2 separate regions of the Homo sapiens genome follow, and region 1 is linked to region 2. Evidence: promoter capture Hi-C in 16 types of primary human blood cells and fetal thymus (Javierre and others, 2016). All regions are on one chromosome and are shown on one strand. Each heading gives the region's core, a stretch centred on a gene start or on the middle of the fragment in contact. The rest is flanking DNA. Distances are from core to core; before and after follow the strand shown.

Region 1 (6,387 bases), core at 3,554-6,053, 1.2 Mb after region 2:
CACTTAATATTATTATACAAATATTTTCTGTAGTGATTGAGAATTCTTGAAAAACTTAAATTTTAATGGCTATATAATGTCTATCTCTTACTCTGTTCCTGCTCTTATAACAAAATACCCCAGACCTGGTAATTTATACATAAAATAAATTTATTTACCACAGTTCTGGAGATTGGAAGGTCCAAAATCAATGTGCCAGCAGATTTGGTGTCTGGTGAGGGCTCACTGCTTCCAAGATGGTGCCTTGTTGCTGCATCCTCCAGAGGGGATGAACACTGCCTCCTCACATGTAGGAAGGGACAGATGGGTAAAAAGGGGTGAACTCGTTCCCTGAAGCCCTTTTATAAGGACACTATTCTCATCTTTGCAGGTGGAGCCCTCATAACCTAATCACCTTCCAAAAGGCCCTACCTCTTAATACCATCACATTGGGAGTTAAGATTTCAACATATGAATTTGAAGGGCACACATATACTTAGACCCTAGCAGTGCATCAATCATATGGGTGTACTATAATTTAGTTACCCAATATCTTATTATTAAACATTTAGATCTTTTCAATTTTTTCATTATTATATTTAAATCTGGGGTGACCGTCCTTTGTTTCCATCTCTGGCTTTCTGGTAATAGAGACATTTATTCTCACCCTTGCACTTGTTTACCTGGTAAACTATATGGTAAAGCACCTTGGTCTCTGTGAGATGGCATCCCTGGCCTAGGGGTCTTTATTATTTTTCTCTGATCAACCAACTAATAGGTGGTAAGGGGGTATGACAACTATGTTATGCAAGAGATAGATTATGCAATCAGGCAAATTTATGGGAGAGGACAGAAGGTGAGACCTTTGAGGGATCATGACATAGAAGGAATAGACTTGTTCTATGTTTCTCCAGGGATGAGTCACAGGACCAATAGGTGGAAATATCAAAGAGGCATATTTCAGTTCAACAAAATAATAGCAAAAATTTATACAGTGCTTAGTCTGTGGCAAGTACTCCTCTAAGCATGTTTATGTACATGTATTAAGTTAATTCTCTCAATATCCTGTGTGGTAAGTACTATCATTATGCTCACTTTACAAAGGAGGAAGCCGAGGCCCAGATAGGTTAAGTAACTTGTCCTAGGTCACACAGTTAGTAAGTGGCGAAGTCAGTATTCACATCCAGGCATTTGCAGCTCTAAATTATTCCATTCTACAAACTTTTATTACTTGTCATATGACAGGCAGTGTGTTCAGAGTTGAAAGCATAAAGATGATTGAACTACTATTAGACTCCTGGCCTCAAGGAGCTGACAGTCAAATGGATAAGACTGCCACATAAAAAGAGAGGTATACTACATTGCAGTGAGCCCTCTGAGAGAAATATGTCAGAGTGCTGTAAGAGTCAGAAGAGGGCCCATTAGCCCAAACTGGAGGTTCAAGGAAGAAGAGTAGAAGGCTTCACCTAGGCTCAGTGGAAAAATGCCATGTTCTGTTCACAATTCTGCCATGGGCACAGGAGGAGGGGGCAAGGTTGCTTCATATTTATTGATTTCGGGGTTAGACTCTCCTCTAGATCTAGGTGTCTAAATAAGGGAACTCCTGAATTGGGAGTAGAATTTAATTCAATCATGGTTTGCTAAAGTTCAATTATTTATGTTTTAACTTCATGATTTAGACCATATCTGAGTACTACCTATATCATTATTTACTTAATATGCTTCTTTAAATACACTGACATGTTTTACTTAAGTAAATTTCATCAAAAATAGCATTACCATAAATGGAAAGCTAGTTTTACTCTCCATAAATAGAAGGTAACCATACAGATAAATATATACTATTAGAAAATATTTATCTATGTACCACCTAAATCACCTGGTATGAATGCCACTGGATGAAATAACCTCTTTGAGTCCTTCCTACACCAACATTCTGTGATTGGGTGACTAAATCTTGCTAGTATGTATGTATGCATTGTTTTATTTTCAGTATATTTGTGTATATTCTCCCCACTTGTTCACATACTCCTGGCCATTTAGTTGTGTGTTTATATCATGTAAACAGGTATCGTTGCTTATATCCCCATAACATACTAATTAGACTCTTATCTTGGATCAAATAATTTATTTCACCTTAGGAAGTAAATCACTACTGCTAATCTGCCTGGCTTACTCTTTTAAATACCCTGCTGGCCTGACTTGAGAAGGGAATATCCTGTTATTGTGGCTCCAGGGTAAACTGCTCCAACTATATTTGTGGTATTGACTTGAGAGAAAAGGACTACCACAATGCAAGGCCATTTGGGCAAACAAAGGACAGAGGAAATGAAAAATGAGGCTGCAGTACTTCAATAGGTGTATTGGCAGAAAGGTTTTAAGAAAGCACCAAAGACATCCTCCCCACCCTCTTTATTCTCTCCCTTTTACTTTCTGAGGGAAGTGATAAGACTGCAATGGGAAGAAGGGTGAAGGCCAATCTCCTGTTGGCTTAGGGGACAGTGAAAGATGGATACCACCCCTCTGTTGGGGAAGTGAGAGCTGCTTGTGGTAAGTAACACAAGGATGATAAGCATGAGCTTGCCTTTGGGGGCCTTCAGAGCCCTGGCGCCTCTCTGGATTAGCTCAGTGATAAAAAAGTTCCTGTTCTATTTATGCATTTCCTTAGACAATCTCATATATTTATTTGTTTAATATTAAAGCAGTAATTCAAGTCTTTTTCTTTTTTTTTTTTTGGACAGAGTCTCACTCTGTGGCCCAGGCTGGAGTGCAGTGGTGCGACCTCAGCTCACTGCAACCTCCGCCTCCCGGGTTCAAGCAATTCTTTTGCCTCCTGAGTAGCTGGGACTACAGGTGTGCACCACCATGCCTGGCTAATTTTTGTATTTTTAGTAGAGACCAGGTTTCACCATATTGGCCAGGCTGGTCTCGAACTCCTGACCTCGTGATGAATCCGCCTTGGCCTCACAAAGTGCTGGGATTACAGGCGTGAGCCACGGTGCCCAGCCTGCAAGTCTTTTTCTTGTATACACAATAGACTCTTGCCCTGACTCAGGAATATACACTTTGGGGACAAGGCCAAGGATGTTATCCCTTTTCTGCAGGTGCAGTTTTTCTGGTTTGACTTGATTGTTGATTATAAAGTCTCTTCCCTCTTCCCTCCTCCAATTTATGGGTGTGGTGGTATCTAGGGTCTAAAATGGAGTTAAAAACCCATACATACTCAACCCCCTAGCCCCAACACACACACACACACACACACACACACACACACACACACACACCTAGTCAAGCTCCTTGCTCATAAAGATAGCAGCCTGAGGCACAACTAAATTTATAGGACTCAGCAGGCCTGCTAGAGCTTGTCTGGGATGGTGCGGTGCCAGAATTTCAAACCCTGGCCACATGTTTCTGGCCCATTGGCCATTCCTAAACCAAATTTAATCATGCCTCTGAATGTCTCAAGCAAGCAGTTTAGTTGCTGATTTTTATAAACTGGTTTATTTATACATACAGTGGCAAGGGTTATGGGGAACACAGGAGCATGTTCTCAATATCTATGACCAGAAAGAGACTCAACCTAAAGCTGGTAGTTTTCACAGTTGCCATTGCTATGAATATTAGTTAACCTTTATTGAGAGCTTTCTTTGTGCCAGACACTGTGCTTTGTAGGCTATAATCTCATTGGCGGCCAATCTAGGTTTTGTGGGGCTGGAAGCTTATACCACTTTGGGGACCATCTTTAAGAAAAACACAATGTTTGATCCCTTCTGGAGTCTTGGAAAGGGGCGTAAAGCTTAAGCTTCATTAATTTTACTGTAAAGCCACCTCTGCATCTTATTTAATCTTTTTGACAATTCTGTGAAGTAATATCTTTAAAAGAAATAGGTGAGGAAATGTTTAGAGATGTGAAGGCACTTGCCCAGGGTTGCACAGTTTGCAATCTAAATCATTGTTTTATCCCCGCAATCTCCTTCCAGGCTTTCTTCTCTCAGCTAACTAGATTTCCTTCTCCAAAATATCTTTATCCTTTGCTGGCAGTAACCTTAGTGCTGTCCTCTGGGACATGTGAGGAACTTAACACTGGTTCAACATTAGCGGAGGGGCAAAAGGTCTCCTTCTAGCTGAGCTCGCAGAAGGAATATGCTCTCTGGGGAACTGTGGAATAAGAAGAAAAGTGGGTGAGGAGGACAATTTTGTTCCCACTAGGTCTGAACTATGCCCTGGTTTTAGCTACATTTTTGTTGTTCCACAAACAACAGTGATTTAATGAATGCAGATTTTTCTGTTTGTATATTGCTTGACTTCCCTTTCATTCCCCAGCCCAGCTTTACCCAGCTGAGGTCCTAACTCCCCTCCCATCTACCCACCCTTCCTCACTTTGCCCTATTCTGCCCCACCTTCCTGTCAGGCCCAGCTTCTCAAGCCTTCTTTTTTTTATTGTTGTTGTTCTACTGGGAGCAGAGAGGGTGGAGTCCTCTTACTGAGGCTTTTCCTCCTCCCTTCCCTCCAGCCCTCAGACTGGGCTCCACCCTGGTAGTTTGTCAGCTGGCTTTCAGGAGGAGGAGAAGCGGGATGATGAAGAGGAGAAAGAGAAGAAGGGAAGAACAGCATATGTGGGCCCAGAATCGTGTCTGCATATTTCTCAGCTGCTTTTCATTAGGTTCCACACTTAATTTAACACTCCTCATCTGATTACTTGGATATATAGAGGAAAGCACAGGCTGCTTCTTCAAGCAGTCTCCCTCACGCATAAGGTGGGATGGAAGGAGTTGAAAATATCGCAGGTTGCTATTTGGTTCATGTTTATTCTAGCCAGCTAAAGAAAGGAGAGCCTGAGGTGTTTCCTAGACGGACAGGGAAATTTATCAAAACTTCTAGTTCCCCATACCTGCTCCCTCACACCCTTTCGTGTGACATAGACAACACCAACCACATGCTGATTATTTCTATGTGTCAAGAGTAAAAGAATATAAAGGCAAACTCCTGCCTTTGACATTAACTGTGGTCATGGGTTTCATAGTTCCCTGTGAACCATCTTTGGGTCCTAATTTGAGTGAGACAGAGGCCATCTCTAAAGGACTTGAAGGGGAAATGTGGACTAATAGGCTGTGTGCGTACAGTGAAATTGAGGGTTCATCCACTGGAGCCTCTTAGAATGGATGTTCTCATTCCACCGCCCCCCAACACCTAGCATTGTTCTTGATAAAGCACAGGTGCTCAATACATTTTATTGACTGAATAGATGAAAGAACAGATGGGAAAGGATCTTGGGTTTGTTTTTCCAAGTTTCAATAACTTCAAGTTTTCCAAAAACTGAATTTGCCATCTAAGGTCTAAGTTTTCCCCACAAATAAAGTTGAGGCAGTATTTCTAAAACAAACAAAAAGCTAGAGCTTAAAATAAATTTGTCAACAATAAAGACTTTTAATAAAATATAAACTGTTAAGCTATCTGTGTATGGATCGACCTTCTTGAAAAGCTATTTCAGACTGAAAAAGTAACTCGATGACCTTAAGGCACACCCACTGTATTCAGGGCTAGTAGTGGCTACTCTTTTCAAAATGTTACTTCAGCAATCTACTCATTTTCATCTGCACATCACAAAAATGCATTTATTATTGATATAAACTGCTTAATGTCTTTCACACACTTGAATCTAAGAGAAAACTTTTCAGCATTGCTCAAAACAGTGCTGTAGTGGTAAGAATCCTATATTGGATAATACTCCCCAAATTTTATACATTGAGAAACAAAGCCTCCAAGGAATAAAGTAAATTTTTTAAATGAAGGCATAGAGAGTTGTACACTTCTCTGTATGATTCCATCTCAATATATCTTACCTTGTAAGCTTGGCAGGGGTGCAGGTCGTGGTGAAGAGATATAGTGAGATAGAGAGTTATTTATGAAACCCCTACTACAGGGACATTCTTTTATGAAACAAATACATATGCATGTGTATTTATTTAACCTGTCACTAAGTTTCCACATCTGTAAAATGGGGATAGCAATGTCTACCCATAGGATTGTCAGAAGGATTCAATGAGTTAATATACATAAGAGGCTTACAACAGAGTTTAGTACATAGTTAATGCTCAATAACTATTATTATTGTTAATAATAATATAACTTGGCATCCAAGTTACAGAAATGAGATCGCCTGGTGCTTCAGCTCAAGGACTTTATAGTTTAGTAGGGGGAGGCAATTATACCAACAAATATGTGCCCCGAGGTAGAGAAGGGCACAGAGGAAGCAATGGTCAGTTTTGCCTGAAGAAATTAAGTAAGGAGGGGAGATGACCTTGAGTTAGTCCTTTCAAGAAAGTGGACAGATTCATTGGAAGGACATGCAAGAAAAAAAAAGGTGGACAGAGAGCTTAGTCTATTTCAGTCAGAGAAAGTAAAGCA
Region 2 (6,286 bases), core at 1,260-3,759:
GTGGGATTGCTTGTGGAGCCTATAGAAAAAGCAAGATGACTACTCTTAGAGCGAGGAAGTCCTGAAATGTCTCCAAAGAGCTTTGGTTTCTGCCTTTCCACTCTTCTTGATCGTGACAGCCCTCTGAGGAACGTTGGCTAGAGACTTTGATTTCCATTTTACTGAGGAAGCTACTGATGCCCAGAGAAGCAAGAGAGCTTGTTCAAAGCGCCACAGCAAATCAACCCTACTTTACACATCAGTGGGGAGGTAAGAGCTATAATCTCAATCACTCAGTTCATTCAAAACCAGACTTGACCAAGTTAGAGAGACTTTCACAGGTGCTAGTGAATTGCCCTGGGGGCCAGTGTCCCATAAAGGCCAGAATGGACTTTTAAAAATATACAGACAGATAAATAGGTTACATATAGATATAATCTTTTCCCCCACTTTCCCATGCCCTTTAATGCACACGACAACCAACCATCTATGCAAAGAAAACTTTCCAGAGGGCCTGAAGAATGGATGTGGATTTGTGCAACTCCTGCCTACTTTCCCTTCTTTCTCACCTACCTTTTATTCTAGAGGTTTTTTCTTCCATCGCTAATTATCCAACACTCGGTTCTCTTGCATTTACAGACCCCCAAGGCAGGTCCAGTGGGTGGCATCAAAGAGGAAGCCTGGAGGTGTTCGTTGGTTCCCTGAGAAGGCTGAGGACGTACCCTTGTTAAGTGGGGGATGTATGTGCTCTGTTGAAATATCAGCTGTTGTAGTTGCCAAAGACGTTCCTGAGCCACCAGAAGCCTTTTCTCTTCAGTCCAACCATGTGTTCACCTTGCCCCAAAGGTCAGAACTAATATTAACAAGCCACTGCAGAATGGGGAAATTAAAACCAGCCATGGAGACAGGCAAGTTCTGGATTTCGCTGGTGCTGAGTTTCAGATCGATCTTCAGTGTAAATGGGCATAATCCCTTACTGGAAAGCAATCTGGCAATATGAAGCAAGAGCAATAAAAATGTTCATTTCCTTTGTCCTAGTTATCGCACTCATGGGAGTCAATCCTGAGTCAATAACTCCCAAAGCATGAAGAAGCTCAGGACATGCAAATTTTTATTTTAATCACAGAGCTATTTTCTGATAGCAACAACTGGTAACCTTTTAAGTCCTCCAGGAGGAAAAGCAGTTTACTGCGTCTTTGCTGTAACCATTGAGGATGATGGCTCTAAGACTTAAATTCTGGGGAACAAATAATTATGCTGCAATTCTGGGTGAGGAACCTAAAGATGCATCGTTATGCTTTTCCCTGGACATTGGGCATATCCATTACTTCTAATTTTTGTGCTCTCAAAAACAAGCCATGAACCTGTCGATGCTCTTGCTATTATCCTTTGTTCATTCATTCACCTGACAAATATCTATTGCTTCCCAACATATGCTGTGTCCAGTATTAGGGGATGGGGCTAACAAGATGAACCAGACATGGTCATTGCTCTCAAGTTGCTGGCATTCTAATGGCAGCAGAAATAGAAGTCAATGATAGCTGTGTATTATAAGTACTGTGACAGAATGGACCATAGGGTGCCGTGGGGCCCCAGAGGAAAAGACTTAACTGGGGAGGTGTGTGGTCAGTAAAAACACTCAGAAAAGTAATTATTGAGCTAATTAAGACAGGGTGTGAATCCTGGCTCTACTACTTCAGTGTAAGAGAGAGTGAACTGTGAGAATGAAATGAATTCATTCGACGTCTCTAACTTAGCCTCCATGTCCCGAACTGGGTTGTCTTGAGAATGAAATGAGATAACATATACAGAAGAGCCATGGATGCATCCGGAGACAATGCTGCTCACGAGCTTACATTTCCTGGGCTTCGATTTCACTTATCTGAGAAACAGAACCAAGAGTAAGGATGTGTCCGGCTACATCCTTCAGAATGTTAAGAGCCAAGACAAAAGCTACAGGGCAGGCTTGAGACAGCCTCCTCCTCCTCCCCTCTGCCCCAATAAAGCCAAAGGCCCTCCTCCTAAGTCTTATCTCAGTGGAGCGACTCTTACTGCTCCCTCCTCCAACCATGAACTTCCCTTTGCCCAGTCCAACGCGAGCACTTAGCGCCAGCTATTCCTGGGGCGCAAGCGCTGCAGCCATCTGTGAACTTAGGTGGGCGGTCCGCCGCACTGAGGGCGGGGCTTTGGCAGCTGAGCAGTTCCGCTCAGGGTTCCGTCGCTTAAAAAGTGGCAAAATGCCGTTTGTAAGTAACCGGACGCACCACTTGGACTTCTGAGTAGAGGAAAAACGCATTGAGACTCAGCTGTCCGAGCGGAAGGAGCGGGAGCCCAACTGGAAACTCCTCTCGCCATTCATTGCCCCTAGGCTTCCGCTTTGCTTCCTTCAGCGTCCACCCAGTTCCTCCTCCCGCCAATGAGAGCTGAGGAAGTTGAAGCCCCCGCCCGACGTGCGTCAGGCGCTTTAGTGGTACGCACGAGAACGCCTGCGCAAACGCGCGCGGGAGGCGGGCCTGGCCAACTTCTGAACAGGAAGCAGTTCGCTCGCGCCTAGGTTGGCGCGGGCTGGGAGGTGTTCCAGCCCTTTAAGATGTTGCGCGTGGTGAGCTGGAACATCAATGGGATTCGGAGACCCCTGCAAGGGGTGGCAAATCAGGAACCCAGCAACTGTGCCGCCGTGGCCGTGGGGCGCATTTTGGACGAGCTGGATGCGGATATCGTCTGTCTCCAGGAAACCAAAGTGACCAGTGAGCGCTCTGGATTCCAGGATCCCTACATACTTTTTCTTTCCCGCTAACTTTTGTCCCCTGTCCCATGTAATTTTACTTTCCCAGTTTCCTATTCTTAGAGTCCTGTCCTTAGACCCAGGTCCCTTCCCTCTTAAACTTCCATTTCCCACCCTAGCTAGATCCCCTAATTGCACTCCATCTCCTGTCTTCAGCAAACTTTAGCTCCTTCTCGAAACCCCATATCTAGTCAGATTCCCACTCATTCTCCGGCCCCAAACTCAGTCCCCTGAATTTCCTCCTTCCATACGCTGTCCATCTCCCCGCCGCCAAGTCAAACCCCCGAATTCTTCATCCCTGCCCCAAGCTCAGATCCTCTAATTCCCACCCCATCTTTGACCCCAGCTCAGTCTAATTTCCTCTTTTTCACATTTCCACCTCAGAACCCCAGTACCCCTTATCTATTCCCATCTCTCCTCCCAGCGGAAAGTCCCTAATTCCCACCTCATTTCCCACCCCAAGCTTAGATGTCCTCTTATTTCTTCACCCTCTTATCTCCCCTCAGAATCCCCTAATTCCTTTTCCCTCCACCCCCAGTTCAGATCCCCTAATTCCCTCTCTCTTACCTCTCACCCTTAGCTCAGATTCCCACCATCCTCTCGTATGTCCATCCCCATCCCCAGCTTCCTCCTATCGTTCAGACCCCCAGGCTTAGCTCTGATTCTTTCCCCTTCCCACCTAATTCTCCACCTCCACTTCATAGTCTCTAACCGCCCCCCACCAAGCCTTCTAATTCTGATATCAATTTCCTCTCTGACATTTCCCATCTTTCTAGGTCCTCCTCTAATCATGGATATTTCATTCCCGTCACCCCCAACTCTGGCTCTGATGTGTGCAAGGAATTAGCCTACAACTGTAATTCCAGGCCTTTGTGTTTCTCGGATGCTAGTTTTACCTCTGACTTAATCTTACATTTTTTTTTTCCAGGGGATGCACTGACAGAGCCCCTGGCTATCGTTGAGGGTTATAACTCCTATTTCAGCTTCAGCCGCAACCGTAGCGGCTATTCTGGTAAATGGGGCTTTCTGTGGACTTTAAATTAGTGAGGGAGGCAGATAGGGGAAAAGGGTTTCCAATATTTGATGAGAGGGTAATAAGAAATCTTAGACATTTAGTTTACAGAGCTAAAGCTGCATAATAGTAAATTACATGAAATATAATTTTTATGGATAGAATTATCCTACTGGACCTCAGAAGTACAGTAGTAGTGTGGTGCTTAATTGTGTGAACTGTGGAGCCAGACAGCCTGGGTTTGAATCATGGCTCATTTCCTAGCTGTGCACCCTCTGGCAAGTTACATTACCTCTTGGTGCCTCAGGTTCCTCAGCTAGAAAATGAGGATAATGTTTACCTTCCGGGGCTGTTACAAGGATTAAATGAATTAATCCATGTGATAATAATAATTGCTAATACGTCTTGAGCACTCACCATGTATCAATGTAAAACACTTAGAACATTCTGTGGCTTTTTTAGATGTAGGAACTGAGACTCCAGGGTTTGAATAAGGTTGCCCAAGAACCACACTTTATGAAGATGACTTAGATGACTTGTGTGGGGACAATTGGAGTGGGACAGGCTGTGCAACAGGCTATTGACTGCCAGGTCTGCTCAGAGTGCCCTGTCTGTTCCCAGGTGTAGCCACCTTCTGTAAGGACAATGCTACCCCAGTGGCTGCTGAAGAAGGCCTGAGTGGCCTGTTTGCCACCCAGAATGGGGATGTTGGTTGCTATGGAAACATGGATGAGTTTACCCAAGAGGAACTCCGGGCTCTGGATAGTGAGGGCAGGGCCCTCCTCACACAGCATAAGATCCGGTAATAGCTCATATCTCCCTGCTACTGAGCACTGCTGGTGCTACTCTTTGAGTGTGAAGATTCTAAGGCTTGCCATGTAAACATACATGCACCGTGGAGAAGTTCCCAAATTTGCCTTTCCTGGTTTAGTCCTGGCTGGGCTACTCAGTGTGTGACCCTGGCAAATTTTTCCCCCCTCTGAAGCTTGAGTTTCCATCTCTACAATGTGGGGCTGGCCTAGTGATCCAGCTCTTATTACCATAGACATCTCAAAAGCAACTTAGTGCTGAACTCAGTGCCCCAGGTTGCTGTCTTTCTGGGTGTTCTGTGTGAATAGCAGCACCATTACCTGGTGGTAATCCTTAGATATCCCTCTCCCTGCCTTATCAGTAGTCAGTCCCCAAGTCCTGTGCATGCCAGATCATTTGTGTCTCTTTAACCCCTTTCTTTTCCATCCCAGACAGTCACAAAATGGAAGCCATGTGGTATGGGGAAGGGACAGAAGGGGAGGTTTGAAACTGACCCCTTTTGGGGGTTTCTCTTTTCTCCAGCACATGGGAAGGTAAGGAGAAGACCTTGACCCTAATCAACGTGTACTGCCCCCATGCGGACCCTGGGAGGCCTGAGCGGCTAGTCTTTAAGATGCGCTTCTATCGTTTGCTGCAAATCCGAGCAGAAGCCCTCCTGGCGGCAGGCAGGTACTGCAAGCCTGGGCAGTAAGGCTTCCTTGAGTTGGTCCTGGGTGCCCAGCCCTGTGTCAAGCTCCATTGAAAGGGATATGGACCCTTTGTCTCTGAGTTCTTTCACAGCATAGTTGCAAACACCAATATGCCCACCTGAATAGGCTCTGCTCAAAACAAACATGGGTTTTGTACTCTGAGCACCTATTCAGGCTCCTGCTCTTACTCATTGTGAGCCCTAGGGCTAGTCTTGCCTCTGTTTTCTCTTTTGTCAAATGAATATATGAATCTCTACCCTACACAATAGTTTTAAGGGTAAAATGAGATGAGAATGGTAAAGTGCGTGGGAGCAAAGGAAAGTCTTGTTCCAGCGGAGGACAGGAAAGTGAGGGTGGGTTAGAGCAATCAAGGGGAGGTGGTATCTGAGCTCAGCTTTGAAGGACAAGAAAAATGCCCATTGGCTCCTGATTAGTGAGGCAGTCATGTCAAACATGGAACACTGTCACCTTTGGAGATCAGAATTGGGTTGGTCAGATATGAAAGGCAGCAAGTTTGTGGTAAGATTGGAGAGGTAGGCTGTTATGAGTTGCTGTTGGCTAGGAAGCCTCAATATGGGAGAGGGCCTGTCTGAGCTCTTGGGCCCAGGAAAAAGTATATGGGCCAGGACTGCTGCACCCCTTTCTAACAATCCCACATTGTGTTTTTCAGCCATGTGATCATTCTGGGTGACCTGAATACAGCCCACCGCCCCATTGACCACTGGGATGCAGTCAACCTGGTAAGGCTCCCTCTAGGTGCCTGGCCCCACTCCTGACTGATTCTGTTTGTCCAGCCAACCAACCCTGAGTTTTTGGCCCAGGGACAGCTTCCTTTATGGGAAAGCGGAGCTTGGCTTGCAATACTATTCTTATAGTACTGAGGATTGGTCATTCATTCAATAGACAATACTGACTCTGCCCATGGCCTGGCCCTGAGCCACATACTGAGGACTCAGGAGTCAGATCCAGCCCTTGGCTCCTAGGAGCTCTCCAGCATGGTGGTGGGCTACA

The links. Contacts are between HindIII fragments. The CHiCAGO score rates a contact against its expected background, and 5 or more counts as called.
Region 1: a contact is called between a fragment that was not itself captured here and the fragment with the promoter of APEX2 in region 2, in 1 of 17 cell types (M2 macrophages). The highest score is 5.5, in M2 macrophages.

Annotation. Positions count from the first base shown.
Region 1 is chrX:56,224,656-56,231,042 of GRCh38, forward strand. It overlaps a transcript of KLF8 not described here. Among named protein-coding and RNA genes, the nearest start is that of KLF8, 4.5 kb to the right of the region's middle. The HindIII fragment of the contact is 2,049 bases long and covers 3,780-5,828 here.
Region 2 is chrX:54,997,854-55,004,139 of GRCh38, forward strand. It overlaps APEX2 (apurinic/apyrimidinic endodeoxyribonuclease 2), which reads left to right and starts at 2,510. Exons shown (of 6, transcript NM_014481.4): 1 at 2,510-2,726; 2 at 3,693-3,776; 3 at 4,398-4,578; 4 at 5,109-5,255; 5 at 5,946-6,015. The coding sequence starts at 2,570. It also overlaps a transcript of PFKFB1 not described here. RefSeq lists a silencer at 2,391-2,530. The HindIII fragment of the contact is 4,396 bases long and covers 1-3,225 here.